Linked DNA regions of Homo sapiens: region 2 is linked to region 1. Evidence: promoter capture Hi-C in 16 types of primary human blood cells and fetal thymus (Javierre and others, 2016). All regions are on one chromosome and are shown on one strand. Each heading gives the region's core, a stretch centred on a gene start or on the middle of the fragment in contact. The rest is flanking DNA. Distances are from core to core; before and after follow the strand shown. Region 1 holds the start of LINC01801 (long intergenic non-protein coding RNA 1801). Region 2 overlaps ZNF30 (zinc finger protein 30).

Region 1 (7,145 bases), core at 266-2,765:
GGGTCACGTTGTCTGTGACACAGACTCTTTGTGTTTCTGTGTATTCTGCTGCAACTCTTTAAAATTGTTAATAGGATCCTTCACTCACTGGCCTTACATGTAGGCTACAGGCTAAATTTGTTGGCCCATAGGCTGCAGTGCTGACCCTTGCTGCGAAATATTTCTAGGAGAAAATACTCAAGACCTAAATCTATGGAGATATATATCATCCCTGTGGCCTGGAAAAGTTAATATTGGCAAGTTGTCCATCTTGGCCAGGACCCTGAAAGATAGTCTATGTTATTGTAAGAAAGATTGGTGTCCTTGGGGGCATGGGCTTTTAAGCCAGGGTGGAATCTGCAGAAGTCTGAGGTGCCATTTCCTGTCCCTATACCTGGGAGAAAATAGCTCTCAGACAGCTGTGTGGCTTTCTGCAAAGCTCAATTAGAAGAGAAATTATCAGGCGTGGTGGCGCATGCCTGCAGTCTCAGCTACTTGGGAAGCTGAGGTGGGAGGATCTCTTGAGCCCAGGAGTTCGAGGTTGCAGTGAGCTGTGACTCCAGCCTGTGTGACAGAGTGATACGCTGTCTGGAGAAATTCATCATGGAGATATGCTGATAATTGGTGGTCCCTGCCTACATCCTCCCAGGAGACTGAGCCAGACCCGGTGTGGCCAATGGTCCACTTATAAATTGAACCATGTTAGACCTCCTAACAGTGCAAGTACTCATTACAGCTCTGACATGGTGCTAAGCACCCCAAGTATTATAAACAAGTGTAATCCATTATGCACACACGGTGAGGCTACACCAAAGTCTGGTGGTTAAATGCATGATCTGTGGAATCAGACAGCATGGGTTCAAACCCTGGCTGGGGTGAGATGGGGAACTTTCTAAGGCTTAAATGCTGTTTTACCAAATATTTTAAAAGAAGTGAAAATACACTGCCTGTTAGAAAGGGAAGTTTTGGGGTGAAGCATGTGGGCAGTTTAGAATACCTGGTGTCCACCTCAGAAACCATCACAGCCCAGATGTTATAGGTTCAGGCCTTTCCAGGGCGGGCACATAGAATGTCCTCGCCTCCAAGGTTTGGAGAGCTGCGCTATAAAGGTTCTTGCAGGCGGTGTCCTGAGCCCAGAGCTGCCTGCAGGCGGGCAGGAGTTGTGGGGGTGTTGGCATGATCTGGTGTCCTCTGTGGCGGCTGCCTGAAAAGAAGAGGCCGAGGGTTCTTTGTCCTATGTCTCTCCGAATCTTAATACCTGCCCTGCAGCAGACTCCCTGGCTGCCAGGGCACACCGGTCACCCCGGTAGACGGTGCCGCCCCGCCCTCGCCAACCCCTTATCCCAACTCCCATTTCCAGCCTTCCAGGAAGCCCGATCCCCACCCCCGCACCATGTGAGCTGCTCCTCTACTCCGCGTAGGGGAGGCTCTGCCTCCGGTGACCCCGAGGGAAAGAGCTAGAGCACCCACAGGTGCTGACTGCTGCGGCGCTGAGGACGCTGCACACCCGTTCACCGGCTGACCCAGTGCTGCTGACAACCAGCGTCCGCGGCCCCCAACCGTCGAACAGAGCGCGTGGGACCATCTGGTGCCAAACGCCTGCAACGGAGTGCAGAAGGTCACGAGGCGCTAGAGACCGGTTGGGGGCAGGCGGTTGGGCCTTGACGCTCTTTGCTGGGCGTCGTTTTTTCTTCTCGCCCCCTTCGCTCCTGTGCGCTTAGTGCACAAGCCCTGGGCTCACACACCCTTTCTCTGTCACGTGTTCCAACAGCATCTCACCTGCATCGGGCTGAACAGGAGACCTCAATTTTCTCCTCTACTCCAAGGATTCGCCGGCTCACAATTGCTCTTCATATCTTCAGCAAGCTTTGTCTGTGCCCTGCCCCTCTGTCCCCCATTGCCTACCATACCCGCTCCCACCAAGCCTGCATCACCTCGCTGTCTCTGTGCCTCTCCCCGGCCCCCTTCCAGGCCTTTCTCCCACAATTTCTGGTCTTTGCTCCTGGGTGTTCCGTCGACCCTAAGAGGCGGTGTCTGATCTGGCAGGCTCAATGCCTTTCTCTGGCGCTGTCTGCACCTCCAATATATTCAGTGACTCAGGAAGGATCCATCCTGCAGGGCCCAGATAGACTCTCCTGTTTGCCACCTGAGCAGAAAGGCACCTCTGTGAGGTCTTTGCCACCCAGTCACCCTACCAGACCCAATCAGCACGTGGGAGACGTGGATGACAGGAGGACAGAGATGGAGAGGGACCAAAAGACTACATGGGGCCTTGAAGGATGTCATAAGAACGTTGCCTTTTACTGAGAGATGGGAACCATGGAGGGTTTCAAACTGCTGAGACTGGCATGATATGACTTAGGGCTTTTTTGTTTGTTTGTTTGTTTGTTTTTTCTTTTTTGTGACGGAGTCTCAGAGTCTTCCTCTGTCATCCAGGCTGGAGTGCAGTGGTGTGATCTTGGTTCACTAGAACCTCTGTCTCCCGGGTTCAAGACATTCTCCTGCCTCAGCCTCCCGAGTAGCTGGGATTACAGGCACCCACCACCACGCCCGGCTAATTTTTGTCTTTTTAGATGTTTTATCTCAGAGAAAGAGCTTCCATGTTCTCTAACTCTTGTAAACAGGTATTCTTCAAGAAACTTTACAATATAACATTCATACACAGAAGTGTACAAATCATCTGTCTATTCCTCAATACATTTTTGCAGAATGAACAAACCTATGTAATCTAGATCAAGAAGCAAAACACAGGCACCTCAGAATCAACCTCATGCTCATTCCTAGTCACTATGCCCCTCCCAAATTTTTAACATTATAGATTAGTTTTGCCTATTTAAAAACTTTATATAAATGGAACCCTACCATGTGTCCTGTTTGTGGCTGTGTCTTTTCATTCAACACTTCATAAAATTCATCCATGTTGTTGCTTTTAGCAGCACTTTATTCTTTTATATTGCTGTGTGATGTTCCATTGAACAAATATAATTTACCCATTCTATTATTGATGGATGTTTGGCTATTAGAAATAATAATGCTACTGTGGCTAGGTGTAGTGGCTCATGCCTGTAATCCTAGCAGTTTGGGAGACTGAGGAGGGAGGATTGCTTGAGACCAAGAGTTCAAGACCAACCTGGCCAACATAGTGAGACCCCCATCTCTCTTTAAAAAAAAAAAAGAAAGAAATAATGCTGCTGTGAACATTCATGTGTATGTTTTCGACTACTTCTGAGGTAGGACGCAGGACTCGACTCCAGAGCCGGGGCTTGGACACTGGAGCAAATTGAGGACTAGCTAAAACAGGGTCAGGGTGGAAGCAGCTTTCCATCAGACACACCCACCAGTGTGCTATGTCAGTTTACATTTGTCATGGCAACATGCAGGAATTACTGCTCCTTTCCATGGCAATGACCCAATGACCCAGAAGTTACTACCCTTTTCCTAGAAATTTCAGCATAAACCACCCCTTAATCTGCATGCAATTAAAAGTAGATGTAAATATGACTGCAGAACTGCCCTGAGCTGCTGCTCTCTGCGCCCTGCCGATAGAGTAACCGTGCTCTGCAGGAGCAGTCACAGAGCTGTAACACTGCCTCTTCAATAGAGCTGTCTTCTTCCACCACCAGCTCACCCTTGAATCCTTTGCTGGGTGAAGCAAAGAACCCTCCCAAGCTAAGCCCCAATTTGGGCTTGCCTGCCCAGCATCACTTCCAATATCATGGAAATTTTCAGTGATGCCTACTATGAGGTTTATTGCTTAACTTTTCACATTTAGCTCTGGAATTCTCCTGTCGATTTGCATGTCTTTTGTAGATTTATTTCATGTTTATTGATGCTACTATAAATCCTCTGAAGGGATTTACCTTTGGATGTAGAAGGCAGCTAGGATGGGAAAGCACACTTTATTCTGAGATTAATGTAAGTCAGAGCCATGCTTCACTCTTTTTGAAGGCTGGCTCTCTCCTGTTATCCTTATTTCTGGGATACTGGCTTTCAGACGTTTTACATGAAAACCTGAGTATTTTTTGGGGACCCTCTTCATTGGCAGGTCCTGACTCTGAATTTTTTTCTCAGCAGCCGCTGAAATTGCTGAATTTTACCTCCAAAACTTGATTTGAAAAAAACGAAGCAAAGGTAGAAAGAATATCATTCTAAAATCATTGTTTTATAAACAGATTTTGCTACGTAGATGCAATTGGCCATAATAATGGCAGAGAAGGCCAGATTTTCTTTCTAACTGTTATAACAGTTTTTAAACATGAAAAAGGTTCATTTAGAAAACAATGTTAAGGTAGGGGCACGGCAGAGAATGGGAAGATGGTCAGCCGGGAGGAGCAGTGCAAGAAGAGAGCAAAGACACAAGCACTCTTGTGTGCAGAAAAGGCATGGTGAACATAGGGGTAAAAATCACTAGCCCTTCTCGGAGCAATTCCAACATTATCTGAAGGAAAGTCCATGGACCATGAGAACCCCCCACCTTCTGAGACACATATATCTGGACTGTGGGACTTTGACCCATGTTGGATCAGCCAGATCCCCTCTCCCTGGAGCAGTTTGTCGGCACAGGAAGAGAACAGCTCAGCCCTTGGAGAGAGAGTCACTTATGGGTAGGATGCCCTGGCTTCCTATGGCTGGCAAGTGTGAAAGTTGATTATATAAATTGAGCCATTCTTGTTATACCCAACTAAAACAGAATTGGAAGGCCAGGAGGAGAAAACACACTCAGGGCACGCCAAGAATGTAATTCTTTGCAAGCCTAGCTGCTGAAATTGCCTGCTGTAACCCAAAAACGGTTTTATGTAGTAGCTTCTGAAACAACCTGCCGGACTCTATGATTACTTTTACCCACTGCTATCACTTACCAATCAGAACTTGCCAGCTCCCCAAAACTTTACTAGTGCCAATGAGTTGTCTTTGCAAAATAAATTGTCTTTGCTCTTTTAACGAAACCTCTTTCTATTTGTTCTTCTAAAAGGCTGCCCAGTTGTGTGCCCTGAATTGCAATTTTCACTTCCCAAATAAAACAGTTTATATTTATAGAGATTTATCTCTGTATTTTGATTTCGACCCAACGCCCTGATTTGCTCACTGCTGTGATCCAGTTGTACCTCCAGGTTCAGTCAATCCTCTCCAATTCTTCAAGGATTGTCCCAAGATAGGTTAGTTTTGGCTGTCCTAGCTTTTCATATAAATAGGGACATGCAGTATGCATTCCTGTGCAAGGATTCTTTTCACTTAGCAGAATGCTGTGCTTTTGTACTTTTGTTGTCTGTCATCAGGGGTTATTTTCTTTGATAGCTGAGTAATATGAATACTTCATAATTTCTTTTTCTATTCTCATGTGGATTGGTATCAGGGATATTTCCATATTATGCTTATTATGAATAAGGCTTTTATGAATTTTGCCTACTATGCAAGGCTTTTTGTGTCATGCAAGCCTTTTTGTGTACATATGTTTTCATTTCTCTCAAGGAAATAATTCAGAATGGAAGCACTGAGTAAGAATAAGTATATATTTAGTTTTATAGTAAGTTTTATGACATTCTTTCAATGTGATTGTACCATTTCATATTATCATTGCAATGAGAAATCTTCCATGTTTTCATTTCTCTCAAGGAAATAATTCAGAATGGAAGTGCTGAGTAAGAATGTGTATGTTTACTTTTATAATAAGTTTTATGACATTTTCTCAATGTGATTGTACCATTTTATATTATTACTGCAAGTGAGAAGTGTTCCAAGCGCTTTACATCCCTACAGGCATTCTGGTGGATGTGCAATGGCATCTCAGTGTGGTTTTCATTTAAACTTCCCTGATGATTAATAATATTGAGCATTTTTGGTGGGCCTGTTGAACATTTCTGAATCAACTTTTGGAAAGGGATTATTGCTCAAATGTTTTGTCCAGTTTTTTTAATTGGGTGGTTTGCCTTATTGTTATTCTATCATTATTATTGTTAGGTTTTGAAGGGAAGGGGAGAGAGAGAGAGTTGGTGGCTCTACAGCAACACAGGTTTATTGCCAGTACAACTTGCAGAGAGGGGACCAGCTTGGTGCCAGAGCTCACTGCTGCTTACAGGCTGGGGTAATTACAGGTCTGGGCAGGAGGGGTCTGGGCCCGTATGGCTTGCTGCCCAGGAGGATGTTGATAAAGATGTTCCTTGGGCCTTTGCCCAGCAGGATGTGATAAGGAAGTCAGGTGGCTGGGCAGGATGTTTCTCACAGCCCAGGGCCCCATGGAATCTTTCATTCTGACCAGGGTCTGTGAAATGGCAGGGACTTGCAAAATGGTGCAGCTTGGACTAACAATTATTATTAATCCTAAAGGGAGAAGGAGATTCAGCAAGAATGGTGAAAGGAGAATTATAAGTAGGGCTTCTCGTTTCATGATCAATATCTGATGGGGGGGGGTAAGTACAGGGGCAGTCAGGATTGGAGGGTCTGGCAAACAGGTCAGCTGAATCAGTGTCTACTAATGAGGCAGGAGCCAGGATCCACATGATGAAAGTGGCCACAGTCAGGAAGTCTGAAATTTTCTCAGCAGAAAGGGAGAAAGAACAGGCAGGCTGAGTGGCCCTGCTGTCTGAAGGGGCCTCAGTTTTATCCTCCAACGCCTTGGGGCTCCACTGGTGCTCACCTCTCTTCTCCAAGCCTAGGTCTTCAGCAGTGACTATACAGGAAACCTAGGGGGCAGAGGTAGCTCTCCTCCACCCAACAATAGCGGCAGTGGCAGCAGCAGGAGTACTGGAATTTGGAGTTACAGAGCTCACAGCTGTTAGATGTGTTTGGAAAGTTCCTTCTTGAGAGTGTCTGGAAGCTTTTTCTCCCTGTGTCTTGTCTGACTTTAGTGAGGCTGGAGATCTGGGTGAATGGCCTCCATCAACATCTTCCTTCGCCCACCTCTCCAGTAGCAGAGTGCAGATAAGACTGGACGGGACAGCCCTGCTGAACCCACGGCAGACCTCCAAAGAGGTCTGTATAAGCTGGCGATGTCACTGACTTTGGCAAATGGGCTCAGAGAAGATGCTTTCTTACTCAAGGTGTCTTCTGGGTGTTTGGAACAGAGGCTTCCTTTCAGGAGTCCAGGACTGTACTGGAAGGAAGTGACCACAAGATGACACCGTTGATCTTCCAGACACTCCCGCTGTTATGAGGGTGAGGGGGGAGCC
Region 2 (6,594 bases), core at 1,634-4,133, 110 kb after region 1:
CCATCTTTTGCTCTACATCAGAAAATAAGTAGACAGAAACCACGTGAATGTCAGGAATATGGAAAGACCCTTTGTCAAGACTCAAAGCCTGTTCAACATGAAAGAATACATAGTAGTGAAAAACCCAACAGATGTAAAGAATGTGGGAAGAACTTTAGTAATGGACATCAACTCACCATACATCAGAGATTGCATGTTGGTGAGAAACCCTATAAATATGAAAAATGTGGGAAGGCCTTTATCAGTGGCTCAGCCTTTGTTAAGCATGGGAGAATTCACACTGGTGAGAAGCCACTCAAATGTAAGCAATGTGGAAAGACTATTAGTGGTAGCTATCAACTTACAGTACATAAGAGTATTCATACTGGGAAGAAACCATATGAGTGCGGGGAATGTGGGAAAGCTTTTCTAGTATATGGAAAGCTTACCCGGCATCAGAGTACTCACACTGGTGAAAAACCCTTTGGGTGTGAGGAGTGTGGGAAGGCCTTCAGTACCTTTTCATACCTGGTTCAACATCAGCGAATTCATACCAGTGAAAAACCTTACGAATGCAAAGAATGTGGGAAGGCCTTTAGCACTAGCTCACCCCTTGCTAAGCATCAGAGAATTCATACTGGCGAGAAACCCTATGAATGTAAGGAGTGTGGGAAGTCCTTCACTGTGTATGGACAGCTTACTCGACATCAGAGTATTCATACTGGTGAGAAACCTTTTGAATGTAAGGAATGTGGAAAGGCCTTTAGACTTAGTTCCTTCCTTCATGCACATCAGCGAATTCATGCAGAGATAAAGCCCTACGGATGCAAGGAATGCGGGAGAACCTTCAGTCGTGCCTCATATCTTGTTCAACATGGAAGACTTCACACTGGCGAGAAGCCCTATGAATGTAAGGAGTGTGGCAAGGCCTTTAGTACTGGCTCATACCTTGTTCAGCATCAGAGGATCCATACTGGGGAGAAACCCTATGAATGTAAGGAATGTGGCAAAGCCTTTATTAGTCGCCATCAGCTTACCGTACATCAAAGGGTTCATACTGGAGAGAAACCCTATGAGTGTAAGGAATGTGGCAAGGCCTTCAGAGTGCACGTACATCTCACACAGCATCGGAAAATTCATACTGATGTAAAGCCCTATGAATGTAAGGAATGTGGAAAGACTTTTAGTCGAGCCTCGTACCTTGTACAACATAGCAGAATCCATACTGGTAAGAAGCCCTATGAGTGTAAGGAGTGTGGCAAGGCCTTCAGTTCTGGCTCATACCTTGTTCAGCATCAAAGAATTCATACTGGGGAGAAACCCTATGAATGTAACAAATGTGGGAAAGCCTTTACTGTTTATGGACAACTTATTGGACATCAGAGTGTTCACACTGGTGAGAAACCTTTTGAATGTAAGGAATGCGGGAAGGCCTTTAGACTTAATTCATTCCTTACTGAACATCAGCGGGTACACACTGGTGAGAAACCCTTTAAATGCAAAAAATGTGGGAAGACCTTTAGATACAGTTCAGCCCTTAAAGTGCATCTGAGAAAACATATGAGTGTTATACCCTAAGAGTCTGAGGAGTGTGGGAAGTGCTTCGTGTGTGGCTCAAACATTGTTGAACATCGGGGAATTTATGCTGGTAGGAAACTTTCAAATGTGAAGAATATTGGCAGGTCTATTCTCATCTTATAATTCATAATATAACTCAGAAAACATAAGAATATTCCTTTGTCATTTATAGGTTTGTAATACCAATATTTATACTGGTGGACCATTCAGAAAAAGTGGGAAACGTTATTACTTAATGGTTACAGCACTGACAGCATGAACTTTTATATGATGCATTTATTCTAATGTGATTGTATGAACAAGTGAATAAAAAACCTTGGACCTCCTAAACCACTGCTGAACTTCAAATAATTCATTATTTTTTAAAACCAGTTAACAATGTAATGAAAGCCTTTAGCCATGGCACTCACGTTAACTATCATCATTGTTATTCCACTGCCTTGCAGCCAGTTAGATATTAGGCACTACACTTATCACCTTACAGCATTGTTTTAAAATGGTGATAATAGAACCTACATTCTTATTAAAAAAAAAAAAAAAAAGCCAGGCTTGGTGGCTGAAGCCTGTAATCCCAGCACTTTGGGAGGCTGAGGCAGGCGGATCACGAGGTCAGGAGATCAAGACCATCCTGGCTAACACGGTGAAACCCCCATCTCCACTAAAAATACAAAAAAAAATAGCTGGGTGTGGTGGCGGGCACCTGTAGTCCCAGCTACTCAGGAGGCTGAGACAGGAGAAAGGCATAAACCTGGGAGGTGGAGCTTGCAGTGAGCCAAGATCATGCCACTGCACTTCAGCCTGGTGACAGAGCTAGACTCTGTCTCAAAGAAAAAGAGAAAAATTGAGACCTCAATTAAACTGGGCATCTGAGCTGGGCACAGTTCAAATGGGAGGTCGGGAGGCTGAGGTGGGAGGTTCACTTGAGCCCAGGAGCTCGAGATCAGCCTGGGCAATGTAAAGAGACTCTGTCTCCACAAAAAAATAACAAGTAAAATAGAATAAATTGGCTATCTGGCACCTATCAGGGACATGAGAGTTCCATTGGATAGCTTTACCGAGAACCCAGAATTGTGTATTCTGGGAAGGGAAATGTATGCCTTTGTTATTATCAGTAATATCTAACACTGAAGGAAATAAGGAGTTATTTGGCCTTGTATTGTGGCCATAGTATATCTAGAGACATGTGTGATTTACGTTTATATTTTAGGTATCTGTAAGGTAGGAGATTGCTAGAGTTTTTACTCTGAAGTGCACAACTCTTAGGCAATGGCCCAATAGTTTGCAATAAATGTGAAGATGAGGCCATTTGTTGACCAGGTCATCCAGTGCTAAGATGACTGCCTGAAGTTTGGCCAATTGTGTTGACTGCTGGGGACATCCTGTCTAAGATGCAAAGTAGCAAGATTCCACTAATTTAAAAAACAACACACAAAAAATCAATATTTATGATGGTTGGCAGTGTCGTTCATACAGTCTGCAAACTGCTATTGCTGTTTACTTAGTTAATCCCAAGGGTCTCCCCAGGTAGCCAACCAGTCTAGGAGAGGGGGTGACTTCTTCCAGTACCATGGCATGTGGCAAGAGACTGAGGACAAAGGAGACCACCTCTCCTGTAGATGGAATACGCCAGAGGGCCCAGATTTGGCTCTATCCTGTATTAAGGAGGCCTCGGTAGCCATGCCAAGTTTGTAGGTTGCTGTTTCTTGACTCAAAACAAATGGGCAGCTAAGTATTAGGTCTGTGAAAGTCTCTATTTCTAGAAGAGCCTAGTATGTAGCTAGTCAGTTTGTTTTAATGGAGGCATAGCATGATTTTGAGAAGGGCAGTTTCTTGTATCAGAAGCCCTTGGGAAACTTCTGGCCATCAGAGGTGGTCTAGAGACTCAAGGACACATGAGAAGAGGTTGCCAAAGCCTTGACAGTGAAGGGATCTCTTAGGGCGCTAACAAATGTGTCTGTCGATGTCAATGTGGACACATTTTAAAGACTGCTGGGGGGAATCACCCTGTCTGATGTTATGGGTTATTATATAGCTAAGGATACAAGACACTGTGGTACTGGGGAGGGATAAACAACATAGGTCTAAAGAACAGAATAGATAACCCAGAAACGTGCAAAGAAATATAACCAACTGATTTTTGAAAAACAAGTAAAAGCAAATAAATGAAGGCAGATAAGGCTTTTCAGCAAATAATGCTGGAGCAATTGAACGTCCATAGACAAAAGATGTGAACATCAACTTAATCCCATACTTTAAACACAAATTCACTCAAAATGGATCACAGACTAAAATATAAAATATAAAAGTACAAAATGTTCAGAAGAAAATACAGGAGAAAATTGTCAGAACTGAAGGCTAGGTTTACCCTAGGTAAACCCATTAAACAAAAGAAAAAATATCCAAAAATAAGAGTATCAGTTTCCACATTAAAAAACTAACGAAGAGAAATGCAAAATGAGCAGAAGAGAGTATATAATAAAGATTAAAATGGAAGTCAATGAAATAAACAGAATGAACTGTGAAGAAAATCAGTGAAACCAAAAGCCTTAAGAACAATACAACTGATAAACCTCTAGCCAAGGATTATCAAGTTACAAAGAAGCACATAAATTACCCAGATTGGGAATGAGAGACATGACAGATTCTACAGATATTGAAAGGAAAATCATGAACCCATTTATGCCAATAAATCTGGGAAATAAAATAAAATGAACAAACTCTCTTTGAAGACACAAACCACTAAAGTTCACTTAAGAAAAATAAAAATGTATATCCCTATATTTATTTTTAAAATCAGATTTGTAATTAGAAACCTTCCTACAAAGCAAACTGTGGCTTAAATGGCTTCAGTGGTATATTCTACCAAACATTTAGGGAAGAAAACCTAAGAATGCAGAAACTCTTCCAAAAAAGTGGAAGCATAAGGAATGCTTTCCAACTTAATTGGTGAAGCTATTATAGTGATACCAAAACCACACAAAGGCATTACAAGAAAACCGCAGATCAATATCCTTCATGAACATAGGTATAGAAACTTCAACAAAATTTTGGCAAATCAAACCCAACAATACAAAAAAAGGATAACACATCAAGAAAATGTAGATTTACCCTCAAAATATAAAAGTTCACTTGATATTTGAAAATCAATGCAATTTACCATTAAAAGACTTTAAGGCCAGGTGCCCCAGTGGCTCACGCCTGTAATCCCAGCACTTTGGGAGGCTGAGGCAAGCGGATCACTTGAGGTCGGGAGTTTGAGACCAGCCTGACTAACATGGAGAAACCCCATCTCTACTAAAAATACAAAATTAGCCAGGCGTGGTGGCGGATGCCTGTAATCCCAGCTACTCAGGAGGCTGAGGCAGGAGAATCACTTGAACCTGGGAGGCGGAGGTTGCGGTGAGCCAAGACCGTGCCGTTGCACTCCAGCCTGGGCAACAAGACTGAAACTCTGTCTCAAAAAAAAAAAAAAAAAAAAAAAAAAAAAAAAAAAAAAGACTTTAAAACAAGGTAAAACGTGATTGTAGCAGGTAAACTCTAAAAAGAACCCCAAATCTCTACTTCCTGGAATTCTTACCCTTGGGTACCCCTCACACATTTTACAAGGGTTGATCTGTAAAGCCCGTATAAAACAGAAAACATGAGAACATGTAACTTCCAATTTTAGGTTATTGAAGACACTGGTCTCCTTCTTGGGTAGACTCTCCTGCTCTTGGATCACTTTCTCTGTTTGAAAGAATCCCTGTGACGAGCATCCCTATGGAGAGATCCATGTGGCAAGGAACTAAAGCTTCCTGTCAACTGCCATGGAAAAGAGATTAGAATTGAATCTTCCAGCCTCCAGCAAGTTTCCTGAGACTGTAGCTCCAGAGACAGCTTAACTGCAATTTCATGGGGGATTCTCAACCTTGACCTACCTAAGCTGCTTCCAGATTAATGTAATATTCTAAAATATGTAAACAAATGTAGAGTGACAGAAAGCAGATCAGTGGTTTCCTAAAGACGGGTAGGTGGATAAGGAGGAAGAGATTACAAAGAGCCCAAGAAAACCTTTAATTTCATGGCTATAAACATGTACCAAAACTTGTACCTGTGAAATATGTGTAGTTTAGACTTCAATAAAGCTGTTTTTCTAAAAAGAAAAAAAAATACTTAAAAAAATCCTCATTTCCTAATTATTTTACTATTATCTATGCTTTAGAGGTTATTTACGTTTATTGCATCTATTCAGTGGAAACAGAATACAATGGCGTGCTATTGCACATATCTTCCCAACTCCATATTCAGAGACATCATGTTGTAGCTTGAAATTGGCCAAGACAGAAGTATTTACACCTAGGGTATTGGTAAACACTACAAACCAGAACTTGATCTGTTGTTTTATTGACCAGGTAGACTTAAGAAAGCAGAGAATATGTTAATAATTCAGATTAAACTTAAAAGTGTTTCATGTCTCTAGTTTCCCATTGTGAACAGCACAAAATTTTGAGGAAATATTCTTCCAATATTCAAAATTACCCTACAAAACAAATAAGTCACTGGCATTATTAATAAATGACTGCAGTTCCAAAAAATTTCTTTACTATTTCAATATCAACTAATATTTACTTTTAAAATAGGCAAGAGATATCAGTAGACATTTTACCATAGAAGTTATATGGGTGGCAAATAAAAACATGATTTAAAATATGCTCAAAATCATGAAGCCTTAGAGAAATGCAAGTTAAAACTACAATAAGATACTATTACTCCATCCCTAGTAGCATTATAAACATTAAAAACACAGATCATAGCAATTGTTGGTGATTATGTGACGAAACTGGAACTCTTGCTCACAATCAGGGAGGCAGGGGATGTAAAATGGTATAATAACTTTAGAACACAATTTGGCAGTTTCTTAAAATGTAAAATATTCACCTACCCTGCAACAAAGGCATTGCACTTTTAGATAATAACACAAGAGAAGAGAAAGAATATTCCCACACAAAGACCTACACACTAATGATTACAGTAGCTCAATTTGTAACAGACAAAAAC

The links. Contacts are between HindIII fragments. The CHiCAGO score rates a contact against its expected background, and 5 or more counts as called.
Region 2: a contact is called between a fragment that was not itself captured here and the fragment with the promoter of LINC01801 in region 1, in 3 of 17 cell types (total CD4 T cells, naive CD8 T cells and naive CD4 T cells). The highest score is 5.6, in total CD4 T cells.

The regions. Positions count from the first base shown.
Region 1 is chr19:34,831,354-34,838,498 of GRCh38, forward strand. LINC01801 (long intergenic non-protein coding RNA 1801) reads right to left here and starts at 1,516. Exons shown (of 6, transcript NR_033982.1): 1 at 1,372-1,516; 2 at 977-1,183. The HindIII fragment of the contact is 2,823 bases long and covers 1-1,843 here.
Region 2 is chr19:34,943,282-34,949,875 of GRCh38, forward strand. It overlaps ZNF30 (zinc finger protein 30), which reads left to right. Exons shown (of 5, transcript NM_194325.3): 5 at 1-1,887. The coding sequence ends at 1,557. Among named protein-coding and RNA genes, the nearest start is that of ZNF792, 18 kb to the right of the region's middle. The HindIII fragment of the contact is 4,924 bases long and covers 422-5,345 here.